Linked DNA regions of Homo sapiens: region 1 is linked to region 2. Evidence: promoter capture Hi-C in human tissues and cell types (Jung and others, 2019). All regions are on one chromosome and are shown on one strand. The core of a region is centred on a gene start or on the middle of the fragment in contact, and the rest is flanking DNA. Distances in the headings are between cores, read along the strand shown. Region 1 overlaps LONRF1 (LON peptidase N-terminal domain and ring finger 1). Region 2 holds the start of C8orf48 (chromosome 8 open reading frame 48).

What was found. Contacts are between HindIII fragments. The study calls those that stand out against the background at their distance.
Region 1: a contact is called between a fragment that was not itself captured here and the fragment with the promoter of C8orf48 in region 2, in 1 of the 25 tissues and cell types used here (hippocampus).

Annotation. Positions count from the first base shown.
Region 1 is chr8:12,749,099-12,753,269 of GRCh38, reverse strand. All of the region lies in intron 1 of LONRF1 (LON peptidase N-terminal domain and ring finger 1), which reads left to right. Among named protein-coding and RNA genes, the nearest start is that of LONRF1, 4.3 kb to the left of the region's middle. The HindIII fragment of the contact is 4,489 bases long and covers 396-4,171 here.
Region 2 is chr8:13,564,167-13,568,310 of GRCh38, reverse strand. It overlaps C8orf48 (chromosome 8 open reading frame 48), which reads right to left and starts at 1,442. Exons shown (of 1, transcript NM_001007090.3): 1 at 23-1,442. The coding sequence starts at 1,319. The coding sequence ends at 360. It also overlaps a transcript of DLC1 not described here. The HindIII fragment of the contact is 18,894 bases long and covers 1-4,144 here.

The DNA of each region.
Region 1 (4,171 bases), core at 1,391-3,890, 820 kb after region 2:
GAACTAATGTCAAGATCTTGTGTTGTTTAGTATCTTTAGAGTTCGAAGCACAAACCCCGGAGATTTTTGTATTCTTTCAGTGCCTTCGTGAGGAGTAGGCAGGTATAAAATAGAAAGGTAGGCTCAGAACAAAAAAAAAGTATTTGGAATACAGAATTCTGATACACATGACTCTGCTTCTCTGGGTGAATAAAGAGAAGAGAAACTGGACTCAGTTGTACAGACCACCTAGTAACTGACCATGGTGTGATTTTTAAAGCGAGGAAGCAGATGCCAGGCAGTGAAGACTTGCACACCGTCACACTGTTAACTGGTAGAGAGGCAGTGCTGTATCTTCCGCTTCTCCTAAACGTTGGTCTAGGGTTCATCCTGCCTTATAGCACATGTTTAGTATACATATCCAAGGAAGTTTTTTTGGTCACTGAGGCTGAACCTTATGGACAGTACTGCTGATTTAGTGATCTGACCTTGAATTAGGGGTTTCACAAGAATCCAGGTCCTGGTCCATGGAAGAACAGTGAGCACTTTTGATAATTGAGGTCTAGCTTAACATTCTGTGACCAATAATATTTTAGTTAACAGAGATTCTGGTTCTTGGATCGAGGATATTATGTTTAACAGGAAAAGGCTCTGAAAGATGTAATCTCTCTTTTTTTCAAGTTGCATAGATTGCACATGAGGATTTTGCCCACTTAGCAACTTCATTCTACTTTTGCAGGAATAGAACCCAAGTCTTCTGACTTTCACTGCATTAGCTTATTTTTTCCTCATTTTTAGTTCTTTCAAGAATCATTAATTCCATGCTTGAAAATGTCTGAATGGCACTAATGAGGATAAGTTTTTTAATCTTTTGAATTCTTAATGTGAACTAACAGGAAAAAAATCTCAGAGCTAACAAATTAGAGTTGGTAAAGGGCCGATTTATAAGTGTCTCACAATTTATGGGTGTAAATCAAAATGTTAACTAGTACAGTCATAAGCTGTTTGTACAATCCTTAGGCTTTAACTTCTTTGGAATTGGCAAGCTAGGCATTTGACATGTATTTATATAACTGTACGGTTGTAGTTATTAATGATCTTGTCATTATTGTTGATAATGAAAAAAGATCTTCACTATAATTTCTTCGTATAATTCTTATAATGAAACAAGTAAATACTATTAACTAGAAAAAATCTAGTCTGCAGTTAGCCCACACACATCCAAACTTATCTCTGCCAGCAGCAAAAGAAAGCTTGAAAACCTTTGCCAAAATCAGAAGTTTCCCATTTAGATTACATAAGTTTCTGTTGAATTGAAATATATTTAGATAACATTTAAACCATTGATCTTTTGGTATTAACTCTCAGATGTTTCATAACTTTCTGTCTTTTTAGTATTCAGGGATATTATGTAAAGTTTTTCCTGCACTGAATCTCTGTGCTTGAGCCTACTGAAATGATCCCCCTAAGCCATGCTGCCTGCCTTTTGTGTTTAATGTTTTTTTACACTGACTTATCTCCTTCGTGTGTTCACCTCTCCCCCAGAGGAAGACAACAGAACAGTATAATTTACAGTTTGTACAGGTTAAAAAAAAAAAAAAAGGTTGTAAGGTGGGGGGGTGATATTTTGTTTTAAAATATTTGGGTAAGGAAAATTTTGTCTTTAATATTAATTCTGTAATGCTTGACCAGGCATGGTGGCTCAAACCTGTAATCCCAGCACTTTGGGAGACCGAGGCGGGCGGATCGCATGAGGCCAGGAGTTCGAGACCAGCCTGGCCAACATGGTGAAACCCCGTATCTACTAGAGATACAAAAAATTACCCAGGCGTGGTGGTGCATGCCTGTAGTTCCCGCTACTCCAGAGGCTGAGGCAGAATTGCTTGAACCCGGAAAGTGGAGGTTGCAGTTAGCTGAGACCACACCACTGCACTCCATCCAGCCTGGGCAACAGAGCAAGACTCAGTCTCAAAAAAAAAAAAAAAAAAAAAAAACATAAAAATAAAAATATAATCCTTGACTGTTACCCAGTATTTTTACATTATTTATATTAATATCATTTGATCTTCACAGAGAATTCTATGGAGTACTGTAATATTATCCTCAGAGGGAAACTGAGGCATCTATGGATAGACATGCAGTGTGGCTTAGTGATTAAAGCTCTGCATGCTGGAAGCTGACACCTGGGTTCCAATCCTGACGCAGCCCTCGCCTCTCTCCGACCTTGTGCACGTTGCCTAACCTATCTGTGTTTTGGTTTCCTTATCTGAAAAATGAGAATAGTCTCTACCTCATAGGGTGTTGTGAGAATCAAATGAGTCAAAACATGCTAAGTGCTTTAAATAGTGCCTGACACAGAGTAAATGCCCAGTAAATATTAATTCAATATTTTTAAAATGTAGAAGTGTGTTACGGCTAGAAGGGGATTTTGCTGAAAGTGGAATCTAAACCTTGCAATTTTACATCCTGTTCTGTTCTATCACTTGGTAGAGAGTAACAATTACATCCCGATTTTAGTTTACACATGTTAACTAGCAGTTTAGCATTCATCAATAAACTATAGATACTTAAAAGCTTTAGCTATCAGAAGATCAGTCAAATTATAGGTAAATACTGAATACATTTAAAGAAAATGTAGAGGGTTTTTATTATCTTTAGTAACTCAACTAGGTTAAAATGAAGAAATTTGAATTTAAACAATACAGTAGTTTCCCCTTATTTGTGGTTTCAGTTACCCACATGGTACAGTATGATAAAATATTTTGAGAGACCACTTTCATGTACGTTTTATCACAGCATATTGTTATATTGTTCTATTTTATCATCAGTTATTGTTGCTAATGTCTTACTACACCTAATTTATAAATTAAAGTTTATCACAGGTATGATAGTATATATAGGGCTTGGTACTATCTGAAGTTGCAGGCATCCGTGGGAGTCTTGGAACGTATCCCCCTTGGGTAAAGGGAGGCTCTTGCTAACTTATTTATGTCCTTACTTATTGTGCAGAGGACTTGAAACAGTAAACACTGATGTCTGTATGGTGATTATAGTTCACAATTATTTTCATTTCTATTATCGTAATTGATCCATACACAAACTCATGTGAGATAGGAGGGCAAGTATTAATATCCCTAATTCACAGATGTAAGAAAAGTTGCAAGAATTTTGGGTGACTTTCTTAAGGGAAGTAAGTGACCAAGTTAAAACTGAAAGCAGAACCCAAATATGTGCATATTGATTCAAAACACAAAGTTGATTTAAAAATTAGCACGCAAAACATAAATCTAAAATATTCTTACTATTCAGCAAATTTTTATTGAGTAGCTACTATATACCAGGCATTGTTTTAGGTGCTAGAAATATAAAAAAGGAGTAAAATAAAGTCCCTGTCCTTGTAGAGTTTGTATTTTTTGTTTCTTTTGTAATTGCAGCAAATTGAAAATCCCTAGAAAATGGGGTTTACTGCTTAATTGGCTTCTACTTAACCGAGACTATATCTCTAATTATTTTCTTTGATTCATAAGGTACTTTAAGGATTTTTTTTCTTAGTGCCTCAGGGTTACTAAAAAGATCAACTGTAATGGCTTTTGATATAAATGATAAAAAAACTGATTCAAGTGTCCCATTTCAAATGAATAATTTGTTTTTTAACTGTTTTTCATTCATCAAATGCAGAATTTACCAAAACTGAATTATCTTAGATTTCTAGTTATTTATATATTAACTTTTTGTTTATTCAGAATCATTTTTCTGTTTGTTGGAATATTTCTAAGAGCCTTGGAAAATCTCGAGTAAAATTTTAAATGAATTTGTATAGTGTTCTGCCTCTTTCCAAAGGTATTTCTCAAAATTGGAATTGTTTTATTATTGAAGTTGAATGACTTCAGGGAACTCTAAAATGCAAGATGGAAGCTTCTGTTTGGTTTTTTCTTTCCCTTTGGTAAGGTCTTTTGCTTCCCATCCCCTTGACCCACCTTTGTGCTGTCTGTTGTCCAGTCTGCTCTCCTGATCCCTAAAGATGTTTCTTATCTAGGCTACCATTTATGTGGGTAAAAGACAAGGTAGAAAATACTCTTCTGTATCTTGTATCAAGGGTTAATCTAATATCTTCATCACTTTGTTTTGAGATATTTTGGAATGTTATCAACAATTATTATAGATGGAGCATGTATGTCTTAGGTTTGGTGTT
Region 2 (4,144 bases), core at 193-2,692:
GGCGCACAAGTCAGAGCCTTAATAACATTTCAAACATCTACTATTTATTAATTCCCCATAGCCATTTGATCGCCAAAGACAGTTATTACTTTTTAAGTTTCTCTTACATCCCCATACTACTTTGCTTCTGTACCATCAACATCCTGGCCCAAACTACCAACATAGTTCTCTTGGAATTTTGTAAAAGTTTTTATAACTATTCCAACTACAACAGTGCCTTCTATAATAGGAAAAAAAAAGTGAAAGTTCTTAGTCCTCAAATCTGTGAAGGAAGCATAGTAAAGTCTTAAGTTAGTTTCCCAAGTGCCTGTAGAAATTATGGTAATTACTCAAATACACAACAAAGACATCTATCCACATTACACATTATCATTAACAATCACCAGCTCTGGTTTGATTAGAGTAAGTCGCTTGAGAAATGGCAGAGAAAATGGTAAATGACAAGCACTATTTCCATCTCGCTGCAACTTCTGCTCTGTCTCTGATCTTTCAAAACCAGAGTATCTGATATGACTTTTCTCAGTCAGTCTTTTCCAGATTATTCTGGGGTCATCTGAAAGCCTGGGAAAGTCTTGATGTGCTTCTCCAATACGGGTGAGAAAGTCTTTGGTATGAAGATGTTCATCTATTCTCTCTTGGAGTAGAAATGACTCCAGTAAAGTCTTCTTTTGTTTCAGAAAGGCAGACAGGGCCAGCTCCGCTCTTTTCCTGTTACAATAGGGACACTGATAAGATATGTGTTGCTTAGCTGCTGCCTCCTGTTTTGGCGTTGTCCTCATGTTTTTAAAGTAGATTCTGTTCAAAAGTTCATCGGGTACAGTACAACTAAAGGCATCTCTCTCTGAAGCCTCTACATCCAATCCAAGATGCAGCTTTTTATGTCTGCTGCTCGTCTTCTTCTTAGAATCCCCTCTACGATGAATCAAATTTATCTTCATGGTGCAATAAGACTGCAGGGCATTCAATTCTTCATCTGATACCCGAGTGATTTCTGTTGGAAGTTTGGTGTCTGGTTGGTGCCGTTCAAAGTTAGAGTCTTTGAGCTTGAGGTAGTTGATCCATTTTTTACTCAACTTCTTTTCATAATTTTTATAGTCCAAAAGCTCAGATTGTGTGTCTCCTTGTTCCAAGCTTGGAGTCTGCTTTTCCCTCTCCAGTTTGCTCCCAGAGGTCAGGGGCGAGGACTGCCGTCCTCCAGAGGAGCTGAATGAGCTGGAAGTCTGTACCTCATCAGTAGAGTTCTTCAAAGTCTCAGTCTCATCAGAAAGGTTTGCAAGAGCACTTTTGTCCGTTTGGGCCAATTCTGGGCAGATGGCCATCACAATGCATCAGGCTCGGCTCCTCATCTCCTTTGCCCAGGTTAAGACTGGCTCAGGAACCCGTCAGGAGCTGACCCCTCCGGGAATGGATCTCAATGCCATCAGCTCTGCGGAGGTCGTCTTCCGGGAGACGCCTTCCCAGCTGTCTTGGCAACGCGGGCCGCTCATGCGCAGTGACTGGCCACCATGCGGCGTCCCGCCTTTTCCTCCGCGCTCCCCAGCGCCCACTGCGCTTGCGCTGCTTGCGCCGGGTTGGCGATTTTGCCCTGTCTTCTGCACTCCTGCTTCTCTTTGGTGCTAAAGTCGAGTAGTCAACGGGAAAACCTTGCAAACTCTGTTTCCCAGGGGTCAGACAGGTGGCACACGTGTGTGAGACCAATAGAGTTAGGTGGCCTGTGACAAATCCGAACGTGTACGCCCGCCTAAATGCATCTAGATTTAAAAATCAAGCAAAACGCGCTGGACAAGATGCACAAGCAAAAACTTGTCTGCAGTGTTTATAGCCAAGAGACACCTCCTTGTAGAGCATGTCTTTGGGGAAAAGTCAAAATACAGAAACCATTCTGTAAGAAGTAGTGTTCTGTGCTCCAGCATTCTGAGGACCTCGAAGTTTGGGCGGGGTCGGGGGTGGGGAGCAGGGGCGGGGGAGGACCTTAATTTTCCAAATCAGTTTCTCTGGCCTTTTGTCCATACAGGTCCCCTCTGGCTAGCATATCCACGCCCGTCCTCACTCTTAATATCGTTAATTTATCCTCCTCCTCCGAGTCCCATTTCCTCAGGAAGGGCTTAATACCCACCCCTGCCTTAAACTCTTTCCAGCATTTTTTTTTAAATAGTGTCCAACTATGTGATTGTATGAGTATCTGATTATGAAGGCTGAAGGCAGAAATCATGTCGGTGTTGCCGACTAGTATGAGCCCAGCAATCAGCAGACACATAGCAGGTGTTCAAGAAATCTCTGTTGAGTGAATGGCTATGGAACAAATAAATCTTACCTTACACACGTCCAGAGGATTTGGAGAAATAAGTACTATAAGTTCAGGGAACTCTAACCTTTTTTCTAACTGAATCCCCAAACTTAGGCTATTACACAGGATATATTTTTTATTAATGGATTCATTTAAAAAACACAGTAGAGTTTTATTAATTATCGTGAGAAATTATAAAATGTTAACTCTAGAGATGGACTTTTCCTAGGTTATAATAGTTCTTGAGTCTAGGACTTAGTCAATGTCTAGGATAATTTTAAGAGCCTAGACACCCTTCTTTCTCAGTTTTGTCTCTCTCTCTCTTTCTTCCTGTGTTTCTTGGGGATTGGGGGGTATTATTCAGGTCTAGCCAGATATATTCCCCAAATGTTCATTCTGGCAAAAAGTGAAAGTCAAATATTCAAAAAGCATCTCTCAAGTATATGAGCCAGCTTCCTGTTGAAGATAAGGAGACTCCAACTTCATTTATTCAACCCAAATTTTATTTTATCATATAATGGTAGTCTTTAAAAAAGAGGTGGCATGTAATTTGTGAGTAACTCCAAGTAATTTCCAATAGGGCTCAATATTTTCCTTATTTATTATTTCAAATCTCTGCCTCATTCTCTGAATATTTACACATTCATATTTACACACTATTCATGTTTTAGCTATATCTTATCCATAACATTGAACAAGGGAGCTATACTTAAAATAAAATCTATCTGTGTCTTCTAACATGCCAAATGTCTGGGGTAATCTGTCTTTTTTATAATCGTGTCTTAAATTTCTCTTGATTTTTAAAAATAACTTTATCCTAGAAGGAGATATATGTGGGTGGGAAATTCTATAATTAATTTCCTTGTAATATTCAGCGTGACCCAGTGGACAGTTTTACATTCTAGTAAGTGTGTTATCTAAGGAAGAAAATTTCTCAACAGTACTATATTTATCAAATAAGATTCATGAAAACACAGGTCAAAGTTTGATTTTAAACAAATATGAAGAGTAATAGTTTTCCTTTGGAAATCTCAATCTTCTTGCCATCTCTCAGGGGCTGTTGGGAATGTCAAAATGCTTTGTGGACCAAGCTGTGGCTGAAGGCTGCTTGTGGTGGGGATTGGGAGATATGAAGAATAGAAAAGAGAGTCCAGTCAGGCTCTCTTGGCCTAACCTTGCTATGCCCCTCCTGTTACTGTTCTGCAGCTACTTTCTCTTCTTCCTAGTTCCTATCAGAGAGCAGGGCCAAGGGTCTTCTCCCAGCTTTTTCCTTAATGATCAAGAATGCTTTGCAGCTATAAGGCCAACCCCAGAAAGAGGAAGTCAAAACAAATTCATGATTCCCCTTCTCTCTTGCTTTCCTTTCCTATGGAGGGAGAAAAGCAAACTTTCAGCATCTGTCACTCTGGCAAGCAATTCTCCCCCCAGATATCATAAACGTTTCCATGATGAGTTGGCATTTGGCAGGTACCTCTTCCTGGTGGTGTGCAGTGTACAAAGTGGGAGTCTAGTTTAAGTATAAGAGAGACTACGATGACAGAGCCTTCAAAAATATTCTACCCTTTACATCAACTTCTCAAGTAACGCTGTGCTTGGTTCTGTAGATGCAGCAAGATGAAATGTTTAGCTGTTCTCCTAGGGGGCTAAGTTGAATGTGACAAGAATCTCACTGTAATGGCCATTTTTGTGAAGGAAAGAATCGTATATCACTCAAGATGAAAAATGATTTTATTTATAGTTGTTCAATTTTTTTGTGGTTCAGTACTTGTTCTTTATCTGTAAAATGTTTTTACCTCACAATTATCTCCATCTTTCTATTCTGTTTTCTGCATCTTTGGTGTTATTATCTTTTTTCTG